Linked DNA regions of Homo sapiens: region 1 is linked to region 2. Evidence: promoter capture Hi-C in human tissues and cell types (Jung and others, 2019). All regions are on one chromosome and are shown on one strand. Each heading gives the region's core, a stretch centred on a gene start or on the middle of the fragment in contact. The rest is flanking DNA. Distances are from core to core; before and after follow the strand shown. Region 1 overlaps SEC22A (SEC22 homolog A, vesicle trafficking protein). Region 2 holds the start of SEMA5B (semaphorin 5B).

Region 1 (6,571 bases), core at 474-2,973, 200 kb after region 2:
AATAGACAATACCAATAAAGAGAAATTATTTTTAAAAAACACAGTGGAAATTCTGGAATTAAGTAAAATTACTAAAATGAAAAATTCACTAGAAGGGCGTAACAATAGATTTGAACTGGCAGAAGAGTTAGCAATTTGAAGATAGATTGATAGAGATTATCTAATCTGAAAAACAGAAAAAAGAATGAAGAAAAATGAATGGAACCTCAAAAAAATGGGGCATGCTAACATAGGTGTGATAGGATACCGAAGAAGAAGGGGGAGAAAAAGCAGAAAAAATATTTGAGGAAATAATGGCTGAAAAGTTCCCAGATTTACTGAAGAACATTAGTCTGCTCTTGCAGGAAGCTCAGTGAACTCCAAATGGGATACACACGAGATCCACAAATAGATGAATCATAGTAAAATGCTGAAAACTAAAGACAAGGAGAAAGTCTTGAAATCAGCAAGAGAAAAAGAACTTGTCACTTACATGAGTTTACCTGTATAACAAACCTGTCCCTGAACCTAAAATAAAAGTTAAAAGGAAACCAAAACTCATCACTTACAGTGAACCTCAATAAGATTAACAGCTGACTTCTTAGCAGAACCAATAGAGACTAGTAGGCAATGGAATGACATACAAATTGCTGAAAGAAAGAAAATAAAAACTACCAGTAACCAAGAATCTTATATCTAGCAAAGTTATCTTTTAAAAAAATGAAGGCAAAGTAAAGATATTTACAGATAAATGAAAGATAAGAGAATTCGTTACTAGCAGAAACACCTTATAAGAAATAATAAAGGAAATTCTTGGCTGCATGTTGTGGCTTACGCCTGTAATCCCAACACTTTGGGAGGCTGAGGCGGGCAGATCACGAGGTCAGGAGTTCAAGACCAGCCTGGCCAACATGGTGAAACCCCGTCTCTACCTAAAATACAAAAATTAGCTGAGCATGGTGCCACACGCCTGTAATCCCAGCTACTCAGGAGGCTGAGGCAGGAGAATTGCTTGAACCCGGGAGGCGGAGATTGCCGTGAGCCGAGATCGCGCCACTGTGCTCCAGCCTGGGCAACAGAGCAAGACTTCATCTCAAAAAAAAAAAATAAATAATAATAATAATGGAAATTCTTTAGGATGAAAACAAGTGACCCTAGAAAATAATTTGAATCCATTTGAAAAAAAGCAAAGAACAAGGGTAAATGTAATTAAGTAATTAAAAAAGACAGTAAAGGCCCGGTGTGGTGGCTCATGCCTGTAATCTTAATACTTTGGGAGGCCAAAGTGGGAGGATCCCATGAGCCCAGGAATTTGAGGTTGCAGTGAGGTAGGCTGCCCTCCAGCCTGGGCAGTAGAGCAAGACTCTGACTCGTAAAAATACATTAATGCATTTTTCTTCTACTCTCTACTCTTAACTGATTTAAAAAGTGATCATATAAAACAGTGTATATATAATGTCATTTGGGCCTATAACATATAGAAATGTAATATGTTTTCGCATACAGCAAAAAGGACATGGGTGGTATTAAAGTTGTACTGGGATAAGGAAATTACTCCAGATGATAATTCAAATCAACAGGAACTAATGAAGGAAGCCAGAAAGATAAGATAAATATTAACAAGAGCTATAAACATATAATTACTATCCTTTCTTAGCATTTTTGGAAGACATAAAATTATAGAAGGTCATAATTTATAACAATGCATTATGGAGTTTGTGATGTTTATTGATATGTATAACAGCAATACCACAAAAAGGAGATAAAGGGAATAGAGCTATATAGGAGTAATGTTTCTGTGGCTCATTAGAATATAGTATAAATTCTTGCAGTTAAGATGTACATGGTAAGCTTAGAGCAACCACAAAGCAAATAAAAAGTAGTGAAAAATTATTAAAGTAAAATACCGTACTACCAAATATTCACTTCATGCAAAAAAAAAAAAAAAAAAAAAAGTGAAGGAGGGATAGAGCCAAAAAAGGCATGAGATGGATAAGAAAAAAGGGAAAAAATGGCAGATGTAAATCTATATCAGTAATAATGTTATATATGAATGGATTTAAAAAGTGTTAATATATTAAATAATCCAGTCAAAAGATGGAGATTGTAAGATTGGAGTAAAAATAAAAACACAAGATGCAACTATATGTTGTCTTCAGGAGACATACCTTAGATTCAAATATACAAATAGATTGAAAGTCAAAGGATAAAAAAAGATAAATGAAGAGGAAAAGAGAGCTGGAGTACCAATACTAATATCAGACAAAATGGACTTTACGACAAACATTGGTATGAGAGGTAAAGCATGACATTTTATAATGATAAAAGGGTGAATCAATTAAGATAGAGCTATAAACATACATGCATTTAACAACAGAGCCCCAAAGTACATTAAGTAAAACCTGCCAGAAGTGAATACAGAAATAGACAATTGAACAATGGTAGTTGGAGACTTAAATACACAACTTTCAATCATGGATAGAACAATTAGGCAGAAGATAAGAAAATAGAAGACTTGAACACCTGCACCACCATATGCCAGTGAGACATAACAGACATCTATTAGGATACTCCATTTAACAACAGAATTTATGTTCTTCTCAAGTGCATGTGAACTATTCTCCAGGATAGACCTTATGCTAAGCTAAACAAAACAAAAAGAAAAACAAAACCTTCATAAATTTAAAAGGATAGAAATAGTACAAAGTATGTTCTCCAGCTACATTAGATGAAATTAGAAGTGAAAACAGAAAGAAATTTGGGAAACTCACAAATATGTGGAAGTTAGACAGTACATTCCTAAATAGTGAATGGGTCAGAGACTAAATCAAAAGGGAAATGCGTACTTTGAGATGAATGAAAATGAAGATTCAGCATACCAAAACTTACAGGATGTAGTAGCAAAAGCTAAATTTAGAGGAAAATTTATCGCTGTAAATGCCTATGTTTAAAAAAACAAAAACCAGATTTGAAGACAACTTTCCACTTAAAGATAATGGAAAAAGAAAAGCAAATTAAACCTAAAGCAAACAGAAGGAAGGAAATAACGATTAGAACAGAAACAAATGAAATAGAGGATAGGAAAACAGTAGAGAAAAATCAACAAAACCAAAAGTTGGTTCTTTGAAAAAACTGACAAACCCTTAGCTAGATTGACCCAGAAAATAATTACTCAAATTAGAAATGAAGGGGCCAGGCACGGTGGCTCATGCCTGCAACCCCAACACTTTGGAAGGCTGAGGTGGATGCATCACTTGAAGCCAGGAGTTCAAGACTAGCCTGGCCAACATAGCAAAACCCCATTTCTACTAAAAATACAAAAAATTAGCTGAGCATGGTGGCACGTGCCTGTAATCCGAGCTGCTCAGGAGGCTGAGGACGAGAATTGCTTAAAACGTGGGAGGTGGAGGTTGCAGTGAGCTGAGATCACACCACTGCACTCCACCCTGGGTGATAGAGCGAGGCTCTGTCTAAAAGAAAAAAGAAATGAAAAGGATGGCATTTCTACTGACCTTCTAGAAATAAAAAGGATTATAAAGAATACTATAAACAACTGTCTCCCATTAAATTCAATAACTTTGATGAAATGGATAAATTCCTAGAAAAACACCAACTACTGGTAATGATGCAAGAAGATAATATGAATAGATCTGTAAAAGCAAAAAGATTCAATTAGTAATAAAAACTACCCACAAAGAAAACTCCAGGCCCAGATACATTTACTGGTGATTTTTACCAAACAGTTAATGAAGAGTTAATAACCAGTTATTTACAAACAGTTCCAAAAAAACAGTAAAGGGCCAGATGCTGTGGCTCACACCTGTAATCCCACCACTTTGGGAGGCCGAAGCAGGTAGATGGCTTGAGCTCAGGAGTTCAAGACCAGCCTGGACAATGTAGTGCAACACTGTCTCTACAAAAAATACTTCCGTATTCTGTGAGGCCGGTATCATACTAATACCAAAACCAGGCAAAGTCATCACAAAGAAAGTAAAATGCAGACCAATATATCTTATGAATATGGACACAAAAGTCCTCAGCAAAATACAAGCAAACCCAATCCAGCAACGTATTTAAAAAATTAGGCCAGGCGCTGTGGTTCATGCCTATAATCCCAGCACTTTGGGAGACTGAGGCAGGAGGATCACTTGTGCCCAGGAGTTTGAGACCAGCCTGGACAACATAGGCAGACCCCATCTCTACAAAAAATTTTTAAAAATTAGCGTGATGGTATGCATGTGTAGTCCCGGCAACTCAGGAGGCTGAGGTGGGAGAATCATTTGAGCCCAGGAGTTTGAGGCTGCAGTGAGTAATGATGACACCACTGCACTCCAGCCTGGGTGACAGAGCAAGACCATGTCTCTAAAAGAAAAAATTACAGTTATGTGCTACATAACAACATTTTGTCAGTGATAGACTGAATATATGGTGGTGATTTCAAAAGATTATAATAGCATATTTTTACTGCACCTTTTCTATGTTTAGATACACAAATACTATTGTGTTACAGTAGTCTACAGTAGCCAGTACGATAACATGCTGCACAGGTTTGTAACCCAGGAGCAATAGGCTATACCATATAGCCTAGGTATGTATTAGGGTATACTATCTAGGTTTGTGTAAATACACTCTATGACGTTTGCACAGCAATATCACCTAATGACACATTGTTCAGAATGTATCCCCATTGTTAAAGGATGCATGACCTGCATAAATCCTGACCAAGTGGGATTTATCTCAGGTGTGCAAGGTTGCTTTAACATCCAAAAATCAATTAATGTAATATATTGATAGAATAAGAAATGAAAAACACATGATTATCTCAATACATGCAGAAAAAGCATTTGACAAAATTCAACAGCCTTTCATGGCAAAAAAACAAACAAACAAAAAAAAACACTCAACAAACTAGGAATAGAAGGGAAGTTCCTCAACTTGATAAAAGTCCCTTATGGAAAACCCACAACTAACATTATATCTAATGGTGAAAGACAGGATGCTTTTTCCTAAGATCCAGGGACAAGACAAAGATGTCTGCTTACACTACTTCTAGTCAACATTATACTGGAAGTTCAAGGCACAGCAGGCCGTTGGACAAGGACAATAAATAAAAAGGCATGTAGATTGCAAAGGAAGAAATAAAATAACACCATTCACATATGACGTAATCTTTTATATAGAACATTCTAAGGAATCCACTGAAAAACTATTTGAGAACTAATAAATGAGTTCAGTGAGGTTGCAGGATACAAGATTAATATAAAAAACAATTGTATTCTATACACTAACAATGAACAATCTGAAAATGAAATTAAGAAAACCCTATATACTGAAAACTTTAAAACATAATTGAAAGAAACAACACCTACATTAATGACAAATAGTCTCATGTTCATGGATTGAAAGACAGTATTATTTACATGGTTGTACTTCCCAAATTAATAGAGAGATTCAGCACATTCTTTATAAAAATCCCGGCTTTTTTTGTAGAAATTGACAAGGTGATCCTAAAATTCATATGGAAATGCAAGGGATGGAGCATAGCCAAAATAATCTTGGAAAATCTTGGAAAAGTACAAAGTTGGAGGACTCACACTTCCAAACTTATTACCAACCTACAATTATCATGACTGTGTGGTTCTAGTTTAAGGATAGACACATAGATCAATGGAGTAGAATTGAGAGTACAGAAGTAAACTCACTATGGTTAACTAATTTTCAACAGTGATGCCAAGACAATGGTGAAAGAATAGTCTTTTTGACAAATGGTGCTAGGACAACTAGATACCACATGCAAAAGAATGAAGTTGGACCCCTACCTCAAAAAAAATATATAAATTAATTAAAATGTATCAAAAACTTAACAACAAAACTATAAAACTTTTAGGAGAAAACATACATATAAATCTTTGTATAATCTTATATTAGGTTTTTAAGACTTAACACCAAAATCACAATGAAAAAAGAAAAAATAGGCTGGGCTCAGTGGCTCACGCCTGTAATCCCAGCACTTTGGGAGGCCAAGACAGGCAGATCGCTTGGTCCCATGAGTTCGAGACCAGCCTGGGCAACATGGCGAAACCTCATCTCTACAAAAAATACAAAAATTATCCAGGCGTGGTGGCGCACGCCTGTAGTCCCAGCTACTCGGGAGGCTGAGGTGGGAGGACGGCTTGAGCCTAGGAGGCGGAGGTTACAGTGAGCTGAGATCGTGCCACTGCACTCCAGCCTGGGCAACAGCCAGACCTTGTCTCAAAAAAAAAAAAAAAAATAGATAAGGTGGACATCATCAAAGCTAAAAACTTTTTTGGAGACAAGTTCTTACAATGTTGCCCAGGCTGGTCTCGCACTCGTCGGCTCAAACAATCCTCCCACCTCAGGCTCTAGAGTAGTCTGGATTACAGGCATGTACTACCTCACCCAATTCAAAATTAAAAACTTTGTTCTTCGAACGACACTATTAAGAAAATGAAAAGGCAACCGACACAATGGGAGAAAATACTTGTAAATCATATGTCTGATGAGGAACTAGTATCTAGAATATGTAAATAACTGTTACAACTAAACGATAAAAAGACATAATCCAGTTTAA
Region 2 (6,724 bases), core at 4,077-6,576:
TCATGGCGGGATTCAGCACATACAGCATTGCCTTTAAAGCTTTCATGTACTCAGGGAAAGCCCGATGGAATCCTTGTCCTTCTATTTCAAGTCAGAGAGTGGAGGAGAATCAGCAGACCAACTGCCAAGAAGAGAGCTCAAGGTTAAACTCTCCTGACCCAGTCCCCATCCCAGAGGTCCCTCCTTCTGCTTTCTCTCCTGTGCCCAGCAGCAAATTGGACAGAAAACCATCTTCATTTTTTATTCCACTTTGAAGCCACCAAGTCGAATAATTTCTCACTGGTGAGTCCCCCACTCAAATCAGGACTGAGAGGCCATTCTGCAAGGTTTGGGTTTCATCTCTCATGCTCACTAAAACAGAAGGGAAGGGAAGTATCATGGCAGAGCCACACAACATTCAGCACCCTTCTGTCCCTTTCCTTTCAGAACTCGACTCTCAGCTGGAACTTCTCCCTGCCATTTTCTAGCATTCAAGCTGGTTATAAAGGAAATTTCTTCAGAAGGAGAGTATTGGAGGAGATCCATCTGAAATAGAGAATGGCATACACGAAGATCCTGTTCCAGATTACCCATTAGAGGATCATCTCCTCAGCTAAGGCAGATGTCATCAAACCAAAAGTCACAGAGAGGGGGGTTTGCAAAAGTATAGCACGATGCCAGTGAAAAATCCAGGTGTTGTCCACACAAGCTATAAATGAAGGGCTCAATTCTGTCAATTCAATGAAATTCCATTAGTCCAGGCATTTGCTTTGGCCTCTTGCCATACATTTAAGACCAAGTTAGTTAAGTGTTGTCATAAATTTAAGGCCAACTTAGTGATAGGTAAACTCATATGGAAAGATCTGAATGTAAAGAAAACTCATTCATTAGAAGTAACTATTTCCAGCACACACACACACACACACACACACACACACACACGAAATGAAGACAAGCTAGTGATCAAGGTGACTGAATGAGGCAAAAGATGGTCCCCAGAACCCACTGGGGTTTAGATCTTTAAGTATAAGTAACACTCCCTCCAAGCACTTGTGCATCCCCAGAGCTCCAGATGCCCAGATCTCCAGGAGCCTGGCTTTGCATCTATTTACACCACAGGTACAAAGTAGGTGTTTAGCTTTGATGAGTGAGGAATCTGAGGCACAGAGAGGGAACTTGGAACTAGGAAACAGCTAAGGTGATGGGATCCTAGCCCTCTCACCCTCCCCCAAAACCCTGGACTCCAAGTCCTTTGGACAACTCCACATTAGCTGTCAGGTCCCCCAGACAAACCCACAGGGGAAAAAACACCACAGTAAATCACCACAGATGTTGAGGCAATGCTGATAATTGTGTACCCTTAGTCATGCTGATTTACCCCATCCTGGGAGATCAGAGGCATGTGTTGTTTACTGTTGTATCCATGGCTCCTAGAACAGTGCCTGGCACATAGTAGGTGAGTGAACACAGGAGTTTACTGCCACTGGATGGTCTCTTTTACCCTGTACCCAGGCAGTGACAAAGCCAACACTTGAAGATCATGGGAAACATCTGTCTACTGCCAGGGTATAGGTGGTGGGGCACCAGAACTCAGCTCTGGGTTCTTTAAGGCAATATAACATAACAAGGTGGCATGCACTTCTAATCAGGGATCTTGTCTTTTTGTCTTCTTTGTCCATTCTACCACCTCAGTCATCAATGAAAGTGGTGAACTGGTTGGCTGGTAATGAGTTGCTAACTCAGATCATTGGATATAAGAGGGTGACCAAGACTAAGCACGGGAGTGTTATGGTCAGTGTTCAAATAATTGGACCCAATAGCATCATCTTCCTAAATACACATACTCCATCCATAAATGTCTGCTGTTCCTCTATCCCCTTGATGGGTTCCCATCCCTCTTTTTAGATCCCCACTCAGGCATCAGGGCTTTCTGGATGTTCCTTGGAATCTGCAAACATCCAATGTGAGCTTCTAGTCTTATCTCATCTAACCCTATTGCTACATTAGATGAAACAAAAAGTTATGGTTGAATTTTCTCTTTTTTGTAAAAAATAAAATTGGTTTACACCCACTGGATTCCCAGTGGGAATGGGGACAGGAGATCTGAATCCAGTCTTTGCTCTGCATGTGGAACCTTATATCAATGGATGTGATGTGCTCAGATTTGAGTAAAACAAGATGGCTCCCTCAAGGAACTTATCATCTGACAGAAGAATCTTAATGGGCCCTGAGAATGAGGGTGAGCCAAGGGCCCAACAGGTCAGAGGTAGAACCAGGCCATGAGATATTCCAGTCAATCCCCAAGGTACAGGGAGACAAGATAACATGTATATCCAAGGCAGATGAGCTCACTTCTTAGAATCTTAATATCTTTATCTATAGATATAAGGGGTCAGGCTACTTAAAGGCTGTTAATTGATTTTGTTAGGATCATTTCACTTGGCCAGTTTGGCTTTGAACTCCCAATTGTCCATAAGCTGGGCCACTCTAATTGCCTGATCAACACACTGTGACCTGCCTGCCCTCTGTAGGCATTTGAATTTGTGCTTCCCCTGACATGGACAATCTCCAGGGCCTCTCCCAGCTTTGAGTCTCAATAAGAAGTGACCACTGTAGGGTCTTTCAAACAAGCCAGGAAGTTCATCCTAAGACAAGAAAGTTTCTGGGGCTCCTCCAGTCCTAATGGGGAGGTAGCAATCTACAGTGTTGGGCTGGACCTCTCGGCTTCTCTGGTTTTCTAGTCTGGCACTAGAAGTGGTAAAGGAACTTTTTCCCCTCCCTAGTGGGAAAGGAGGTGCTGGCTGTCCTATCTCAGGGCAGAGTCAATAAGCCCAGCTCTCTGTCCCACCTGAGTCATCGAGTTTTTTTTAACCCTTCCTCTCCTAAACCCTTGGGTCATCAGGCACCTTGCTGCCTGTACAGCCACTGCATGTTCCTCTCCATGTTCTCCCTCCCCAAACACATAGACAAGTGTCTCAGGATCAAACTGGTGAACTTACTAACCTCTCTGGGCATGGGCTCGGCCCTGTACCTCTTTTTATCTACCAGCATTTAGCATGGTGCATTGCACATAGTAGGTGCTTAAACAGTGTTAGATGTCCACGGTGATGATTATGGTCGCTACTGTTGGCTTTGGAGGAGGAAGGCTCTGGCACTGGCTGCTTGGAAAAAGAAAAGGGATGGAAGATCTGCCATTCCTTCCCAAACTGGTGGTGATAGGTGTTGATATGGAGAAAAGAGCTCCCCCTGAAACCCACACTCACCTACACACACCTTTCCCAACACAGCAAGCCAGAGGCAGCCCTGCCCCGAGTGGTCTACCCCCACGCCCCAAGGCCCAGAACAGTTCTCACCGCCCCATGAGTGACCAAGTGGCAAGTTCCCCCATCTCTCCTATATTTTATCTCCTTTCCTCCTCCGTTGAAAATCTAGACTTCGGGAAAGGTACTGGCTGTTTCTTTCCAAGCTGCTTTCAAATCTGCCCCCCTTTTCCGTAATCTTGAGGTCCAGTTACAAGGTTCAAGTTCCCCTCTTGCCCCTTCCTCAAGGTCATCTGTCCCGGCTTAGAAAAGGTGAGAGGCCACTGCTGATTGTCAAGAAGAGAACAGGCTTAAAAAGATGAGCTGAAGTGGGGAGGCCGAGGAGCAAGCAGGCAGGGAGGGCTGTGGAGAGAGGCCCCGAGGCCGAAGTGGGTTGGGGTGCCTGAGAAAAGCGGAAGGAGGTCGGATTCACTAGGGGCTGAAGGAAAAAGATGGGGTTAGGGCCAGAGAAGGTAGGATCGTGGTGAGGTCTAGACACAGGCAAGCTTCCAAACCCTCAGTCCCAATTCCGTTGGCCGGGAAGGAGTGCATGCCAGGGTAGCCCGCCCTCCCGGCTCCTGCTGCTCTCACCCCGCCCCTCTGCAGAAAGCCTGGGCAGGATCGCAGGGGTGCGGGCAGAATCCAGCGCTCCTCTCTCCCCATCCAGACTCTCGGCCCACTCCCGCCTGGCGCGGCGGGCAGTCGGAACTACCCAAAGACTGGGCTCGAGGTGGGGGGCGGGGGCGGGGAGGAGGGGGCCAGAACGGCGCTGCAGGTGATCCTCCTCCTTGTTTAAAGTTTGCGGTGGGCAAAGGAGTCGGCTCCGTTGGGCCGGGTTTTCTCGAGCCTCGCCTTCTTCCTCCGCCGGTCCGGCGACCACTTCCCTCTTGGCTCCCGCCCCGCGCGGGTCCCCGATCCCCTCTCCCGTCTGCATCCCTCTCTGTGCCCGAGCGCCCCCCGCTCCCTCCCTCCTCGCTGGATCTCCCGCAGGACGTGAGCGGAAAGTGAATGGGCAGCCCCAACCACAAAGACAAATTACCATGAGAAACATAAATCGGGAAATCGCCGCTCGCGTCCCTGCTTCCAGCTGCCGCACCCCTCTCCACCCTCCCAGCCGGGAGTGCGGGGCCCTGAGCCACTGCCCCTGGAGCCTGGTGGGCAGAGTTCACGCTCCGCAGGCCTGGTCAGGGCAAGAGTGTCCTGGAGGCGGGTCTGGGAAGAATCCGGGCGGCGGCTCCGCAGGCGGCGGCGGTGGAGCAGGGACGTCCCTGAGCGGGAGATTTCACACTCTGGGCGGGCCACGCGTTCCCACGCGCCTCGCCGCCCGCACTCTCCCTCAGTGCTGTTTACTAGCCGGCCCTCTCTGAGCCTCCATCTCCGCACCTCTGTCCCTCCGTCCCTCAGCCTCACTCGTCCGTCTCCTTCTCCAGGCCTGGGTCCCGGGTCCCCATCGCCGCTGCAGCCCAGATGCGCCGACCACAGCCCTGGCAGGGCCCAGTGCAACCCGGACCCAAGCTGGCTGGCGGCGGGAACGCAGCAGCGATGAGGGCTCTCAAGCCGAGGTGGCAGCGGGAGGCGCGGAAGCCAGGGGACCCCCTGTCCTCCCGCCCGCAGCCTCACCTACCTGGCTTCAACTTGCCAGAGCCCGGACCCCTACCTCTCTACCCCGATACCCACCCGAGTTGCTGAAGTTTGCAAGTTGCAGCCCCAACCCGCGCAGGGGAAGCGCCCGGGGCTCCCGGGACTCACCTCCCAGAGGCGGGTGCAGGTGCCCGGTTCCCCGCGGCTCCCGACTCCCGGGCGGCGCGGAGCGGCGGGAGCTAACCAGATGGGCTGGCGGCCGGTCTGGGAATGGGGCGGCCGCGCAGGAACGGCCTCCAGCTCTCAGCGCTCCGGTGCAGTCCCCACCCGGGCCCGCGCCCGCTGCGCTCGGGCTCCCAGCAGCCGCTGGATGCGCTGCCGACCCGCCCGGCTCGGCGGAGCTGGGCTCTGGCACCAACCCCCGCGCTCCAACTAGCTCCCGACCCGGCGCTCGGAGAGAGCAGGGAGGAGGAGACCGCGGGAGCAGAAGGAGGGAGGGGGCGGTGGGGGAGGAGTTGCAAGCAAAGGGAGAGAAGGAGGGGAGCGGGAGCGAAAAAGAGGAGGGGGCTGGAGCAGACCTGCCGCGGCGGGCGCTGCACCCGCCAGCCTCGAGGCGCGCGGAGGAGCGCGAGGGGGCGCCCTGCATCCCGCGGCTGCTCGGCCGACTCCCGCCCCGGGCCTGCCGAGTGTGGTGACCAGCCCGGTGGGCCGAAGCCCCTTCCCCGGCCGGCATTCCGGCGGCAAGACCTAGGACTCCGAGCACTTGCCGCCGTTTGCCACATCCCGCCTTGCCGTTCTCGGTCACCCCATCTCGAATGTGACATCCCCGAGGGCCATCGGCGCGGCCTGCCCACCCCAACACTCAGGGCCTGAGGAAGCTCCCCCAAACCCCACTCCGGACTCCCACATTCCCCAGCCCCGTCAGTTCGGAACGATCTTCCTGCCTGTGGATTTGAAGGGGAAGGGACCTCGTGTAAAACGGGGGAGAGCCGTTATAACCTGCAGCGGCAGAGAGGGAGGCTAGGCTGCTGGGCTGGGCTGGAAAGCCAGAACTGGCCGGATTAGGGTTAACCTTGCAAACTGTACGATACCGAGCGAACCTCTCCAAGCCTCAGTTTCCTCAGCTGTAAACTGGGGTTAGTAATACGCACCCTACAGAATTGTGAAGAACGAGTAGGGGATACGGGGAGTAAAATAACATCAGGAACAGTGGGAGGGCAGCCAAGAGATGAGCGATCCGGGGAGGTGGTGGAGCGTTCTCAGCTGAGGACGGAAGGTTTAGCGCAATCACAAGGAGCGAGGCCGAATTGTTTACAAGTTTAAGTGATCTAGTGTTTCTGATGGCTAGAAGGCGGGAGAGAAAGATTCAAGGGGCAAGCTTCAAATCCTAGCTGCCCGGGCTGCAAGAGGGATGGGAAGGGAGCCCTCTGCTGAACAAAAAATATATTTGAAAATGTAAAAAAAGGTGACCTAAGAACGAGTGAGAAAGACAAAGGATTTGAAAAATTAAAACCAGGAAAGTGTGATTCTAAGAGATAACCAAAGAGAACTATGAAATAAAAATAGATAAGTTGGAGGAAGGAAAATATCAAAAGACTTTCTAGAGTATGCCAAAAATTGGATAATTAGAACAAAGTCTGAGTGAAGCATTTTACATAATAAAATTCTGGGTAAAGGAAAACCCAGATAAAGCAGAAGAATTGAGACACTAAGAGCCCCAGAGAAGCACCTCCTGCCTGCCATCCTCCTACCCCTGGACCATGGCAAGAAGCAGTTTGACAGGATAATGGGAAAGAAAGGGTGGTTCTGAATCCAAGAAGGGAGTTTATGAGACACTGTAAAAAGAGAAACAGTGCAAGATCTCA

Evidence for each region. The method cuts DNA at HindIII sites, captures the fragments that hold promoters and counts their contacts. A contact is called where the count stands out against the background at its distance.
Region 1: a fragment that was not itself captured here is called in contact with the fragment with the promoter of SEMA5B in region 2 in 1 of the 25 tissues and cell types used here (liver).

The regions. Positions count from the first base shown.
Region 1 is chr3:123,228,788-123,235,358 of GRCh38, forward strand. The region is part of intron 4 of SEC22A (SEC22 homolog A, vesicle trafficking protein); the gene reads left to right. Among named protein-coding and RNA genes, the nearest start is that of SEC22A, 30 kb to the left of the region's middle. RefSeq lists a silencer at 372-572. The HindIII fragment of the contact is 6,296 bases long and covers 1-4,871 here.
Region 2 is chr3:123,022,437-123,029,160 of GRCh38, forward strand. SEMA5B (semaphorin 5B) reads right to left here and starts at 5,327. Exons shown (of 23, transcript NM_001031702.4): 1 at 5,028-5,327. RefSeq lists an enhancer at 5,931-6,438. The HindIII fragment of the contact is 5,774 bases long and covers 1,912-6,724 here.